3 separate regions of the Homo sapiens genome follow, and all the other regions are linked to region 1. The links are contacts of gene promoters, found by promoter capture Hi-C in blood cells and fetal thymus (Javierre and others, 2016). All regions are on one chromosome and are shown on one strand. The core of a region is centred on a gene start or on the middle of the fragment in contact, and the rest is flanking DNA. Distances in the headings are between cores, read along the strand shown.

What was found. Contacts are between HindIII fragments. The CHiCAGO score rates a contact against its expected background, and 5 or more counts as called.
Region 2: a fragment that was not itself captured here is called in contact with the fragment with the promoter of MLLT10 in region 1 in 1 of 17 cell types (neutrophils); the score reaches 5.3 in neutrophils.
Region 3: a contact is called between a fragment that was not itself captured here and the fragment with the promoter of MLLT10 in region 1, in 1 of 17 cell types (total CD8 T cells). The highest score is 5.5, in total CD8 T cells.

What each region holds. Positions count from the first base shown.
Region 1 is chr10:21,531,359-21,536,388 of GRCh38, forward strand. MLLT10 (MLLT10 histone lysine methyltransferase DOT1L cofactor) reads left to right here and starts at 2,874. Exons shown (of 23, transcript NM_001195626.3): 1 at 2,874-3,162; 2 at 3,287-3,446. The coding sequence starts at 3,287. RefSeq lists enhancers at 2,443-3,156, 3,872-4,584, 4,848-5,030 and silencers at 2,522-3,051, 3,062-3,131, 3,242-3,581, 3,722-3,811. The HindIII fragment of the contact is 10,036 bases long and covers 1-5,030 here.
Region 2 is chr10:23,444,597-23,449,626 of GRCh38, forward strand. No RefSeq gene overlaps it. Among named protein-coding and RNA genes, the nearest start is that of OTUD1, 8.0 kb to the left of the region's middle. The HindIII fragment of the contact is 1,543 bases long and covers 1,117-2,659 here.
Region 3 is chr10:22,555,139-22,560,168 of GRCh38, forward strand. All of the region lies in intron 6 of PIP4K2A (phosphatidylinositol-5-phosphate 4-kinase type 2 alpha), which reads right to left. It overlaps LOC124902393, which reads right to left and starts at 157. Exons shown (of 1, transcript XM_047426113.1): 1 at 1-157. The coding sequence starts at 62. The HindIII fragment of the contact is 3,568 bases long and covers 872-4,439 here.

The DNA.
Region 1 (5,030 bases), core at 1,624-4,123:
GATGATTAGTTTGGAGAAACAGATGAGCTAGTACTGAGTTAGCTGCTGTTATGTGAAGCAATGTTTAGAGACAACAGGGTTTCATTTTATTCTAGAGGTACTACATACACTTTTTTGAAGGATATTTTGAGAATATAAAATAAAAATTTAGGGTAACATTTTACAGTTGAAATTGTTCTTTTTCACAAAGTTATTTTATAACTCCTATGGTAATTTATTTTTATATTGCTATGTATTTTAAAAAGCATACTTGAACTTTAACAATTCTGCCAATGTAATTACAAGTTTTATCCATTTTGAGGTAGGAAAATTAGCATATTCAGCCAATTGTTACATATATGACTATATATATATATATATATATATATATATATATATGTCTCACAAAGGACAAATACAACTTTCTCACTGCTATATTCCCCATATCCAAAACAGTCCCCAGTACACAGTAAATGTTGAATAAATATTTACTGAATGAATAATTAATTGTGTATTTGAACTGTTTTACTGTTTTATACTGTCTGCTTTTCTTCCTTTTCACTTAACATTTTATAGAAATATACAAAATATTATACTTCAGATATACAAGAAAAAGTTTGATATCTGGTACAAGTTAAAATGAAAATGAGTTATTTACACTCATGTTTTTTCTTATAATTTTCATACTCAACATATGTTAAAATCAGTTTTAAATAATTTGAATTATATTTTGTGAACACTTATGTATACATCTTTAACAAAATTTGTTTCAGATACTATTGTTTATATACAGGCTGTTATGAAATAATACATTTTCCCTATTTTTAAAAATTTCTGAAACCTCTTACAAATGATACATTTTTTTTGTTTTGTTTAGGAAATAGCAAGTGTTTACTTACATTTGTTTTAAGTGTTAAAGAATAGGGCAAGGTACCCATCCTTCTTTACATACAAATTAATTCCTTCACAAGAACTAAGCTCCAATGCATTAAAAATAAAACAAATGTGTTTTTAAATAATTTAATGCATTAAGGCTTGGCTGCAGTGTTTGGGAGGGGAAGTTTCACACTGATTTTTAACTCAGAATTGCTCTATAGTAAGAGTCTGAACAGGACTTGGATATTGAGCTGGTATCCTTTGTATAAGGGTGAAGATAAAATATATGGTTAAGATACACAAGACAGTATAGTTTTGTTTGAAGCCCGTTTTAGTTTCATAAATTTTTAAGGTAGTTAAAAAATATAATTATTATATATCCAGAAATGTATTAATTGTTGTCACATCCCAAAAAAGAATTCATATTATGTAGTCTTGTAGTCACCTTTTCTAAATGCACTATGTGAATTCTCATTGTTTTAGTGTATATTTTAATTGCCATTACTTTGTATATCTCAGCTTTTAAAACATCTGAATTTGCTATATATGCTCTCATTGTGCTGTATACCTATTATCACTCTTACACAGATTTCTAGCAATTAATTTGAAATAGAAAAACAGCCATGATACCTTTTCTAACCCCCCTTTATCAGAAGAACATTTAGAAGGCTTTTAAAGCCCAAACCATTATATTATCTTTTGGCGACCGACTAGGAGAACTTGGGTTCTCTATGCTTTAGCACTGTGAAAGTGCATCTTCCAGATCAGCACATTTATAATGCGAATTGCTGATAAAGAACCATTTTGTACCTGCAAGGTATTAATCAAAAGTCATGAATTCGCCTTTTAACTGGGCTTGTCATTTAAACAATCTATGCATAATTCTGATTTCATGCGAAACTTTTCTAATTAGACATTTTTTGCTTAAACATCAATATTGGGCTTTACGGATGCATAAGGAATAGGCAGACAGTGGAAGATTTTAGTTTAAAAGTGCTCAGCATCCAGCTAATTAATCTATGCAGATAGGCCTAATCCATTTTCCATTTGTTTGTGAGGTGGGAGCTCTCATCTTTCTGCCACTTTTAAATGACCTCACATTTCCAAGTATAAATTTGGAGAAAAGACCCGGATCAGAGGAATCCTCCATCAAAACTGGACGCCACTGTCTGATGGCGTTAATTATGTTTTAGCGACTGACTAGGAGGGCTAGAGTTCCTTCTTCCTTTTGGTGTAATACAACTGCATTTTCCGGATCATCGTATTATATTGCTAATTCCGGATAAACCACCATTTGTCCTGCACACCGAGCTGAGGGGCGCCTTGGCGTTCCCTCTCCGAGTGCAGCCCTAACACAGGCTTTTGACCTTCAGCCTGGAATACACTTTCGTTTGTCATTGGGGCCCACGTAGTGCGAAAATGGGCGGCAGATTTGGTAGGACTTCCAGCGGGTGAACTTTGGGAAGAGTCCAGGACGTGAATTTAATGGGTGGAGTGGCTGCGGCAGCACTGTGAAGTTAGCGCGGCCAACTGCAGGAAGCCATGCTTCATTACACCCTTCATGGAAGCTGGCACACTCGCCCCACCCTCGTTTTCCACGGGCCAGTCTTGGAGGAAAAGGCCAGCAGGTAGGTTCCCAGGGCACGGAGATGATGCCCCCGGGGACTCCCCTCTGGCGATTCTGAGAAAACCCCTTCCCAGCCCTGGGCGTCCACCTCCCCCGCCACCTCCCAGGCCTCTTCCCGACGCTCACACGCGGCCCGCGCCACCAGCGCTGCAGAGGGCGGCCCTAACGTCCCCGCCCCCGCGTGCGCGCCCCCGCGCCCGTTCATTCCGGCCTCCGCGCGCCGCCGGCTCCCCTCGCGCCCACCCCCAGCACACCTCGGCGGCGGCGAGCGGCGCGGGGGAGGGGGACGGGGCCCCGGAGGTAGGCCGGGGGCAGCCAACAGGCCGCGGCAGCGCGCACGCAGGGCTAGCCTCGCCCAGGCCTCCTCCCTCACGCCGGCCGCAGGACGGGCGCGCACGCCAAGTGACGCTCCGAGGAGGAAGCGCAGCCCCCTTCCCCTCCCTCGCTGCCCCTGGCCCAGCGGGAGCCCCCCCTCCCCCCAGTGCGCCTGTGCGGAGGCCCTCTTGATTATGTGTGCCCTCTCCGGGCGCCCGCGTTAGCGGCCGGGTGGAGGTGGGGAGGGAAGACGCTGAGGAGGAGGAGGAGGCGGAGGAGGCGGTGGAGGGGAGGTGGGGGGAATCAGCAAGGACATGGCTCCTGACTCCTGTGCGGAACGTGAGTGACTGAGCGGCAAAGCCCGAGTGAGCGAGCGGTGGGCTGCCGGGCCGGGCGGGGGGCGCCGGGGCGGGCTCGGGGGGCTGTGTGGGGGGGAAGCACTAATCGGCTTGCATGTGTTTTTTAATGGTCCCCCCAACTCCCTCTTAGATGGTCTCTAGCGACCGGCCCGTGTCACTGGAGGACGAGGTCTCCCATAGTATGAAGGAGATGATTGGAGGCTGTTGCGTTTGCTCAGACGAGAGAGGCTGGGCCGAGAACCCGCTGGTTTATTGCGACGGGCACGGCTGCAGCGTCGCGGTGCATCAAGGTAAACACCCAACCGCCCGCCGGGGCGCGCCGGCCTGCGCCCAACGGTCACCGCCGCCCCCACCTGGGCCGCAACCGCCGGCGCCCCCGCCCCGTGCCGCGGCCGCGGGAGGGACGCGGAGGGTCCGCGGCGGGGCGCGGGGGGTGTGGGCCGCGCATGTGGGAGAAAGTGCGTGTGGCCCGGACTGTCATGTGATTCCGCTCTCACTCTCTCAAGTGTCATTCGGCCGCCGCCTGCGCCTGGGGCCGGGGTCTGCTGACTCGGCGGGGCGGGGCGGGGCAGGGCGGCGGCCGCGCCCTCGAGATCTGGGCCGGGGTGGGGGCGGGGGCGGGGGCGGGGGCGGTGCGCGCCCTTCCCGGGGTTCCCGGGGCCACGGGGGTGGGTTTGGGAGAGTGGAGCGCCCTCTTCTCCCCTGGCCTGCAGCCGCCTGTCTGCCGCAGTGTTTGGAGACTTCCTGTGGCGTGGAGACGGGCTCGGGAACGCGGCGCCAGTGTGGGGAGGCTGGGGGTCGCCTTGCCTCTTTAGATGGGGAGGGATGCGGGGCCCGTTGCACCCCGAGCCAGAAGGCTCGGGCCCTGCCGCCGCCGCCCGGTAGCTGTCTGCGGAGGAGATGGCGGAGTCCGTTGCTGACCATGCGGGAGTGGCGGGGCTGCTGCAGCGCCTGTGGGGTGGCCGCGGCAGGCCACCACCAGCCTAGGTGGCTGAAGAGGTGGCGGTGCCAAGTCACTTTTGGGGAGCCTCTTAGTTTATTTCTGGTTGTTAACAATTGATGAGGTTTTTGGATATACAAGAAGGCCGAGGACACTAGTAAGATACTTTTCTGGCCTTTGAAGTGGCCGACTTTTCCCCATTTCACGTGGTAAGGAATCCAGGACAAAACAGTCTATATTCTTTTTTGGTGGCTCCATGTCCCTTCGCATTTCTGAATCTGGCATTAAGCGATGCATATGTTTTTAGTAGTCTGTTGGAAAGGACTACCACCAAAAGGGAGACGAAAATTTGAACATCTGCTAAAGTGCATTTTGTAGAGAAACGAATGTCACACTTGGAAAGGGAGACTTTAGAAGCAGTGGTGATGATTCTGAGGTAGTGTACTTACTCTGAGAATGCTGTTTATTCCCAGACTTTTATTTTTTTACTTTTTATTTTGTTGAGACGGAGTCTTGCTCTGTCACCCAGGCTGTAGTGCAGTGGTGCCATCTCAGCTTACTGCAACCTCTGCCTCCTGGGTTCAAGCGATTGATTCTCCTGCCTCAGCTTCTTGAGTAGCTGGGATAACAAGCACACCCTAGCACACCGGCTAATTTGTATTTTTTAGTAGAGACGGGGTTTCGCCATGTTGGCCAGGCTGGTCTCAAATTCCTGACCTCAGGTGATCCTCTTGCCTCGGCCTCCCAAAGTGCTGGGATTACCGGCGTCAGCCACTGCGCCTGGCCCTAGACTTTTAAAGAAGAGCCAAGTTGCATGTCTTGCTTTTTTAGGGAGTGAATACAATGCGTGTCAAACCAGATACTGATTTTAAGGTCATCCCATGTTCATTGGCATTTTGAAGGCCAATGAATTTCTTATGAATTGGAATTTCTT
Region 2 (5,030 bases), core at 638-3,137, 1.9 Mb after region 1:
CTTTTTTTTTTTTTAGACAGAGTCTTGCTTTGTCGCCCAACCTGGAGTGCAATTGTGTGGTCTTGGCTCAGTGCAACCTCCACCTCCCGGGTTCAAGCAGTTCTCCTGCCTCAGCCTCCCGAGTAGCTGGGATTACAGGTGCCTGCCACCATGCCCAAGTAATTTTTTGTATTTTTATTTATTATTTATTTATTTATTTATTTGAGATGGAGTCTCGCTCTCACCCAGGCTGGAGTGCAGTGGCATGATCTTGGCTCACTGCAACCTCCGCCTCCCGAGTTCAAGTGATTCTCCTGCCTCAGCCTCCTGAATAGCTGAGACTACACGTGCGTGCCACCACGCCCAGCTAATTTTTTTTTTGTATTTTTAGTACAGATGGGGTTTCACCATGTCAGTCAGGATGGTCTCGATACCCTGACCTCGTGATCCGCCTGCCTTGGCCTCCCAAAGTGCTGGGATTACAGACGTGAGCCACTGTGACTGGCCTTGTATTTTTAATATTAGAGACGAGGTTTTGCCATGTTGTTCAGGCTGGTCTCCAACTCCTGACCTTGAGTGATCCACCCACCTCGGCCTCCCAAAGTGCTGGGATTGCAGGCATGAGTCGCTACACCCCGCCAAATTTTTGAATGAAGGAATTAATTGAAGGGAAATGGAGCTTTGGAAAATATTTAGTTGGAGAATGTGAAATTAAATGAAAATAACTTGACTCTAAAGGTACTGGGAATTATTAATGACAAAGTAATTATGCGCGTTTTAAACTCAAATAATAGAAAAAGATATTGCAGTATTGAATTCTGTAACTGACAAAATGGTTTTTGAAACCAAAAATGAGAATTCATTGATTTTATCTTTCTGTCATCTTCCAAACATCTTGAGAAACCAGGTCAACTGTAATTATTTAAAAATAGAACTTCACTAATCTGCTGTGATCTTGAAGGTGTTGCCTTCTCCAAAATGACTTGCTCTGTTTTGCTTTGGGGGTCACTGCCATCCCACATCCAGTCTCTAGCAATTCCTAGTGTGACTGTTTTCTCTGTAGCCTGGTTGAGAAGGAAATGTTGAACAGATTTCAAGCATGAGTTACGACTGCTGTGTTCAATAATACTGGCTGCAAGCTTATGTCATTGGTCAGTGGGACCAAGGCAAGTAGTGTAAATCAGATCAGAACAGCTGTTGGAAAAAAATGTATTTCTTCCTGTTGTAAATTAGATCAATGACAATGATTCTATGAGTAAAGGTCAGGGAGAGTTCACTGTCATCAGTTAACTTACAGTAAAACCTTATCTAGCCTTGTTTCTCACAATTGAATTTTCTAAATAATTGAACAGTTCCTTTTTGTGTAAAATATGAAACAAAAGGCCGGGCGCGGTGGCTCACGCCTGTAATCCCAGCACTTTGGGAGGCCGAGGTGGCGGATCACAAGGTCAGGAGATCAAGACCAGCTGGCTAACATTGGTGAAACCCCATCTCTAATAAAAATAGAAAAATTATCTGGGCGTGGTGGCGGGTGCCTGTAGTCCCAGCTACTATAGGGGCTGAGGCAGGAGAATCGCTTGAACCCGGGAGGTTGAGGTTGCAGTGAGCTGAGATCACACCGTTGCACTCCAGCCTGGGCAACAAGAGTGAAACTCCGTCTCAAAAAAAAAAAAAAAAAGTAATTTATGGTGTACTAATTTTTCTTTATAAAATAACTGAATATGAGGCTGGGCACAGTGGCTCACGCCTGTAATCCCAGCACTTTGGGAGGCCAAGGTGGGCAGATCACAAGGTCAGGAGTTTGAGACCAGCCTGGCCAATATGGGGAAACCCTGCCTCTACTAAAAAATACAAAAATTAGCTGGGCGTGGTGGCTCACACCTGTAGTCCCAGCTACTCGGGAGGCTGAGGCAGGAGAATCGCTGGAACCCGGGGGGCGGAGGTTGCAGTGAGCTGAGATAGCGCAACTGCACTCCAGTCTGGGCAACGGGGCGAGACTCCGTCTCAAAAAAAAAACAAAAAAACTAAATATGGTTTAATCATTTAGTGCTTTAGTGCTTGCAGATGGCTGAAATGTGACAGTTCATTTGTACTTAAAGGGATCTCAGAGTGCTAGGACTTTTTTTTTTTTTAATTTGTTTCAAGATGGGATCTCACTCTGTTGCCCAGGCTGGAGTGCAGTGGCATGATCATGGCTCACTGCAGCCTTGAATTCCCGGGCTCAAGCGATCCTTCCATCTCAACATCCTGAGTAGCTGGAACCACAGGTGCATGCCACCATCCCACACCTCTCCCTCGCTAATTTTTTTATTATTATTTTTGGTAGAGATGGGGTCTCAAACTCCTGAGCTCAAGTGATCCTCACCCTTCAGCCTCCCAGAGTGCTTGGTTTACTGGCCTGAGCCACCACGCCCAGCTAGTGCTGGGAATTTTATCTTTGTGATTATACTTTTCCTGTCTACTTCCTCGCATTATAAAAGCTCTTACCATTGTCACTTTCCAACCTCAATTCCCACTATGATTTTCTATGTTCAGTTAGAGACACTAATCAATGTGCTTGTCAGAATTGACTCTAAAATCATAAGAAATGGTTTTCTCTTTTTTAAATAACACAACCTGTCATACTAGAAATGAGTTTCTAATTCAGAACTGTGATGCTCTGCTGTAAGTAATGTGTTTAAGCTTTAGTTTTTGGTCAACCAGAGTGCTTTTTTGCTGCTTGCCTTGTCTTCTTTTTTCATTGTTTAGTGGTATCCTGGATTTGTCTGATTAAGGGATCTCTGAGTGTGTGCAGTGACATATTCAGAAAACAAATGGGTTGGCTATATTAAATCTCAAAATTGGAGCTGATTTGTCATGGCCTAGTTAATATTTTGTTTCCTCCCTACCATATATAATCCTTCATAGTGTGTCCCTGCTGTTGTCTTTCTTCTATTTATACCTTTTTTTTTTTATTTATTGTATTTTTTTTTTTAGGGCTAGGATCTTGACCTGTCACCCAGGCTGGAGTGCGGTGGCGTGATCATAGCTCACTGCAGCCGTAAACTCCTGGGCTTAAGCAATCGTCCTGCTTCAGCCTCTTGAGTAGCTAGCATTATGTTGCCCATGCTGGTCTTGAATTCCTGGGCTCAAGCAATCTTCCTATCTGGGCCTCCTGAGTTGCTGGGATTAGGCATGAGCCACTGTTCCCAGCCTGTTTATAAATTTTTAATTATGTCCTTTTTGAGATAGGGTCTTGCTCTTTGTCACCCAGGATGGAGTGCAGTGGTGCAGTCACAGTTCATTGCAGCCTCGACCTCCTGGGATCAAGCAATTCTCCTACCTCAGCCTCTGGAGTAGCTGGGACCACAGGTGTGGGCCACCACATCTGGCTAATTTTTTTTTTCTTTTGTAGAGATGGGGTCTCACTATGTTGTCCTGGCTGGTTTTGAACTCCTGGCCTCAAGCAGTCCACCCACCTTGACTTCCCAAAGTGCTGGGATTACAGGCATGAGCCACCATGGCTGATATATATATGTTTAAATATAGAGACAGGGTCTCACTGTGTTGCCCAGGCTGGTCTTTAACTCTTGGCCTCAAGCAATCCTCCCACCTCAGCCTACCAAGTCACTGGAATGACAGGTGTGAGCTACCACACCTAGTTTGTTTATACATTTTTTATTAGTTTTCTGGTCCACAAAGCTGCGGTAATTACAAGGGAATTCAAATATTAGGTCCTCATGCAGACTCCAAATCAAAGTGTGCACAGATGCGTCCGGTACAGATATGACAGTTATCTTTGAATTTTCTCTCCCTAATTCTTCTTTAATGTGTGTATATTACATCTACATAGGTAAGAAAGTTAGTCTTCCTCCTGAACTTCCTTTTTCATTAGAGTAAAATATTTTTTCTCATATTGATTAGTGTTTAATAGAGTCAGTAAATACCCTTGCATTAATATGCTGACAAGTAGATTTTGACAATTTGAAAAAAGCAAAGGATGAATTAATTCCTGTGGGGTCTATGAATTTTATATTTTAAAGCAGTTAAAGTAGGGGAAAAAACCTACACACACAGGACATTTTATACTTGAAACTGGAATTATTTTAGCAAGTGAGGATGCCAAGTAGAATGTCAGTGTATAGAGATTTAGCCTTAATGATATATGCTTGAAGTAATGATTGAGTCTAAACAAATGTTCCACCTAGATTAGAGGTTGTCTGTTTGAATAATTTTAGGGATGGACAAAGTAGTTGTATTTCTTAGCTTATAGGTACAAAAAGCTGGTGTGCAAAATAGGTACTTGTGAAGGGAATTTATACCAATGTGTCATGTGACACTTCTGCAGTCAATTTGTAAGATAAATTCAAATAAGGCTTTCAGTTCTGATGACAAACAGGAAACATTCACGCTTTTTGTTTCTCACAGTGAAATACAAGCTACACTAGTGATGTAATAGGAACGAAAGAAGAAGGAAATGCCACAGTTAAGTGGACAACTGCAGTCAGGAAATTCTTAGCTGTTACTTTGCTACCTTTGCCATCTTGCTGAAAAGCACTGACTAGACCTAAAGGGAATAAACAGTTAATGCTTTTGCTGTTTACTAAATCTAAACAATGCTCATGTCTCCATAAACAGTAGGTACCGAAACCTCAGTAACTGCTTACACAGAATTCTAGGCCAAAGAAGAGACAGATTTAAGATGTATGTTAAACTTGTCAATATAAACTTGTCAATATAAAGTCATTCTCTGACTGATTTTTCATTACCAGTTCCTTCCTTCCTTCCTTCCTTCCTTCCTTCCTTCCTTCCTTCCTTCCTTCCTTCCTTTCTCTTTCTCTCTCTCTCTTTCTCTTTCTTTCTTTCTTGTTTTCTTTTTCTTTTTTGATGTAGTCTTGCTCTGTCGCCCAGGCTGGAGTGCAGTGATGCAATTTCGGCTCACTGAAACCTTTGCCTCCTGGGTTCAAGCGATTCTTCTGCCTCAACTTCCCAAGTAGTTGGGATTACAAGCGTCTGCCAACACACCTGGCTAATTTGCGTGTGTTTGTGTGTGTTTGTGTGTGCGTGTGTTT
Region 3 (5,030 bases), core at 1,406-3,905, 1.0 Mb after region 1:
CCCGACCCCAGGTCGACTAGGCATGGCTCAGCTTTCCACGTAGGAGACAAACTGAAGCCCATGGTTATGTGAACACACTAGATCCAGGCTGCCTGGGTTGTAGCTCCGCAACTCCAATTATTAGCTATGTGACTCTGGCAAGTTAAGTTACCTCTCTGTGACTTGGTTTCCCATCTTTAAAGGGGGATTTGCAAACATAGGGTTGTGAGGGTTGCATGAGTTCACACATGTAAAAAGGCCTAAAATGGTGCCTGCCACACAGTGTGTTATATACAAACGTCGTTATATGCTAATCATGTTCTCAAGTATGGCTTATGGATCTAGGAAAAGCGCATCGCTGATCAATCCAGAGCAAGATTTTTCTTTTAAAAAATATACTGACATATTTAACATTTTAACACTAGCTGTGATGTTCTGGGCCAGTTGCTTAGTCTGCCCAAACCTCAGTTTCCTTACTTATATAATGGGTAATTAATAATACTGTACCTATGTAATAGGGTTAGTGTGTAAATCAAATGACACAAAGCACATAGTGCCTGGCAATAGTAACTTGCTATGTCTATTTCTTCTAAAATAGGGTCTTTAAACTTAGGATACCTTCTAGTTGATACCTGGATAATTAAAAAAAAAAAACAATTTATGATGTCGGTAATCTAAACCTGGGGGTCCAATCTTTTAGCTTCCCTGGGCCACACTGGAAGAAGAATTGTCTTGGGCCACACATAGAATCAGTGAACACTAATGAGAGCTGATGAGCTTAAAAAAAAAAAAAAAATCACAAGAAAATCTCATCATGTTTTAAGAAAGTTTACGGATTTGTACTGGGCCACATTCAAAGCCGTCCTGGGCCCCATGCAGCCCGTGAGCGACAAGCTTTATTTAAACGATGTTTAAAATTTCCTTTGTTTTTAGGTTTTATCTGCTAGTTACAAACATGTCACATGAATTCTCTACATACTGTCTTCAAATTTGGAAGACACTTTTGTCACTGCACACTGCACACAAACCTACCATACATGAGGGCAAAGTTAGTATTTCATTTCACTACACAGGACCCACGGGGAACACAGAGGGCACATGAGACAGGATGCATCGAAGGTGACATGGCCCGAGGCGCCAACCTCCCTGTCGTGGCGGCTCTAGTTCCCTACACTGCTTTGCAAACCTCAATTGTGAATGCTACCAGCTAGAAAAACCTCTGTGATCACCTGCAAAAGCTATTCCTAGTAGGAAACCTCACTGAAAAGACCTTTTGTTTAAACTGAAACCCAAATGAGAGTAAAATGTCCCTATCTTATCATAAAAATTGGACTGGTTAAATTCCTGAAGTAATAAAGAATTTGAAATTTATGATCTTTATTCAATATATGGAATAAAATGTAATGATTTTACGTATCTGGCCAAAGACAGAAATTTGCTGACTTCTGTCTTACCTTAATTTTCCATGGGTTAGTTTTTTCTCAGCACATTATAATAGTGGATAATTTAGTGAATGCTGTTTTGCTGACCTAAAGCAAAAATCCACAGAAGCTGAAATCTTAGTAGCCAGAAAATATAACCAAAATACTAGGGAATGGTGAACTCACTCCTAGGGAGCAGTGAACCCACTGGGAACATTTAACTTGCTATGAGTTGTAAAAAGAAAATTTATTATAAACATTTGTGTATATATAATACATTTATTATAGACATTTCTCCCTCATTTTGCAAAGTTTTTGGCTTTTAAAGCACAGCATCACAGGCCTCAGCAAGTCTACTGTAAGTCAACAGTAAGAAACACACTGTGTGACAATACAGGTCATGGTCAAAAATAGTTTGTGTGTCATTAAGACACAACATGAATGTGCGAAGTGAGATGCACACTCAGCTGAGTCAGAGCCTGAAGATAACCAACACACGCGTAAGGCTTTCAGTGTATAAAAGCCTCTCAACGGAATTACTTACGCCCTAGGGTTCAATACAAGGTATCAATGATCTCTAAGGACAGATTTGGCCAGGGGGTTGGGATTAAAAAAGGGAAAACGTATCAGGACAGTTACAAAGTTCAGAGCCCTCATTTTTAGAATTTCTAAACACATGCCGCCTTTTAGCAGAGACCTGTGGTATAAAAATTACAGAATTCTATGAGAGCAAAGGAGATGCAGCACTGTTTGCTTCCCAGAACTGATAAAAAGGAGCTAAAAAGCAACACCTAAAAAATTCCTGCTTAATATTATTTAGTACTTTTATGCTTAAAAATTCCAAATGACTAAGAACTTTTGCAGAATCTCTAAAACCAAAACCAAAACAATGTGTTTACCAAAAGAGTTAAATGCTTTGTTTGTTTGAAGTGGGAATTAACTCACGTGTATGTGTACATATGTGCTTATTTCATGAGGTTCTGTAATTTGATGCATAACTGCTGTCATTCATATGGAGTTGAGCAATATTGGATATTCTAAGGTTTAGTAAAGCCAGAAGTTATATGAACATTTTATTTTAGTGAGATTTTAAAAAACTATCTTTCAGATGACACAAAATTTTTAAAAATCACAAATTTCAAACTATAGTTTGAAACATTAAACAGAATTCAAACTAAAATATCATTGGATTTTTAATGATCATTCTAAACTTTAATTATACAACAAGAGCCAACAGTATGGGTAAATGGCCATTAATAACTGGAAATAGAAAATACATGAACCTAAAATGCACAGAGCCAAAATCTTTATAATATAGAGCCAAGTTTTTATTTTAGTCTGGATGGAAACTTTACTGGGAAGAAGAAATGCACCCAGTCACACTTGAGTGTCTAATGCAAACAGGATTTTGGCACTAGGTTTTAATGCAAAGGATAATACATATCATAGTACTCTGTGATTAAAGGACTTGTATTTCGGAATGAATTTTTTGTTTGATATGCTCATTTGGCAACCTATTTATTATTTTTTAAGTCTAATTGTAAGCCTCAATGTCAAAGACTGCTGCCGGGTGTCCTTTTGATACGCTGTCACTGTGACACTCAGAGCTGAATGCTCCACATAAAAAATACGTAGTAATTATTGTTTTATGTTAGAACTGCTTGTGTTCCTGATTTACTTGTAATTCCAAGCTCACCCAAATGAAAATAAACTTGCAAAAAAGAATAAAACCCCTTTTGCCGTGCTTGCAAAAATCTTCATAAAAATCAGCATCTATGGAACTGAAAACATAATTCACAAGTATTTCTATAAGGGAAGGAATTTTAGGTAATCCTTATGTTGGAGCTAGGATAAAAATAATTTGATGGAGTAACATATTTGGTATCAATTCTGGGGTAATAAGAGATGCTGGAGATTTATAATAAAATCAGTTCTGCTTCTTGGAACATCTAAGCCACAAATTTGATACATCAAAAGGCAAATTAGTGGATACGGATAAAGTTCATACAGAAGTAGCAAAGAAAAAGGGTGGTTTTGCACAAATAGTACATATGCCAACCTCCTTTAACTACATAAGCAGAATGTCTATACAAGTTCATGGTTTGAGAAATGATCTAAGAGGTCATTAATAACTTCTAATTTTCACAGTGAAAACAGTGAGAATGTGCACATCTGTGACTAGCATCCAGATGTGAACATCTTATAATTTTTATTTTGAATCTGTTTATGTATGAATGTGGAAAGAGAATATACCTCAACATACTTGTGAAACAGTGCTGTAAGTAAGCCGCGCAAAACTGGAGAAGCGTTAAGTTATAACTGTTAGGGCTGGCAAGACCTAGCTGTTGGCAATTTTCCCTCAAGCTAATACGTAAAAAGTAAAATTTATTCCTTTTTTAATACTGTCATATTTTATGACAACTCTATGTGGTAATGTCAAAGGTGACGGTTTGGTCTTCCTCCACAAACTGGGATATGACAGCTGAACTGCATACAAGACCTACAAAATAGGACCTACGGGATGGCTTCGTTCCAGTCGTAACAGAAGATTCTGGTGCGCAGATATCTATGGTGATAATCTAAGAAATGTCAAAGGCTGAACACTCAAGGAGTTTGCTAACTCCTCTAGATCTCTGGTTTAATACTACCATGTTAAAGATCATTATTTAATTAAGAATTACACATCTGTAGCAGCTTGGTTTAAATTCAGACCACATACTGAATTTTGGAAGTCTTCTCTCCACCCCAACTTTTTCTAGAACCAACTACGAGTTGTTAGCGTGAAAACATTCCCATACCTAACAGCAGTGCTCCACGTGTGCTTGGGATACTCTGAGTTGATTTCATTCCAGTGAGATAAAAATTAATCTGAGGCAAATGAGAGCTGATGAAGCACCATAAGCCATAAGTCATAAAGCCTTGAGGATTTTAATGCTGTCATCTGAGTGAAAATCTGGAAAGTGCTCACAAGAGTCACTGCATGTGATCCTCTCTTTTTGTCACGTGCCATGCTTACCAGTTACGAGATATTCTAAATGAAGCTTTAAAACTTCATTTCCAGAATACCCCTCATGGTTTATGGGGTTCTTATCTATATTTGCTGAACAGAACATTTTTTTCCCCATCAATCATAGCAATCACCTTAATCTATATCTGGAATAGAGAAGATTTTAGTGATGGTCAGGCCAGGACTTCTCCAAGTGGGGCCGACTGCTGAACCACATCTCTGGAGGAAGGTCCAGGAAAGCTTCATTTGAAACAAGAGATTCTCACCAACACTACAGCATGAGGAGCAATGACGCAAGCAAATCCTTTAATTTTACAAACGAGGACAAAGTCAGATGACCTATACTCAAACCCCATTAATGCAGCCCTGTGCCCCCAGGGCTGGGACTCAGATCCCCTAACCCTCTGTTTGGAGTCCTTCACCCAAATCTCCCTTTTATAAAATGTCTCTGGTCCAGAAGGTAGATGTTACTGGTGCCACCTTTAAGGTCTGAGAAAGAAGCCCTGCTTCTGCCCTAGTGGGAAACTTTCCCCTGCACTTTGGGTAGTAGGATTGGTGTCCCTAACTAACACTGGCTGGCAAAGGGAAATGATTCCCTTCTATCTCGGAAGAAAAGGAATTTT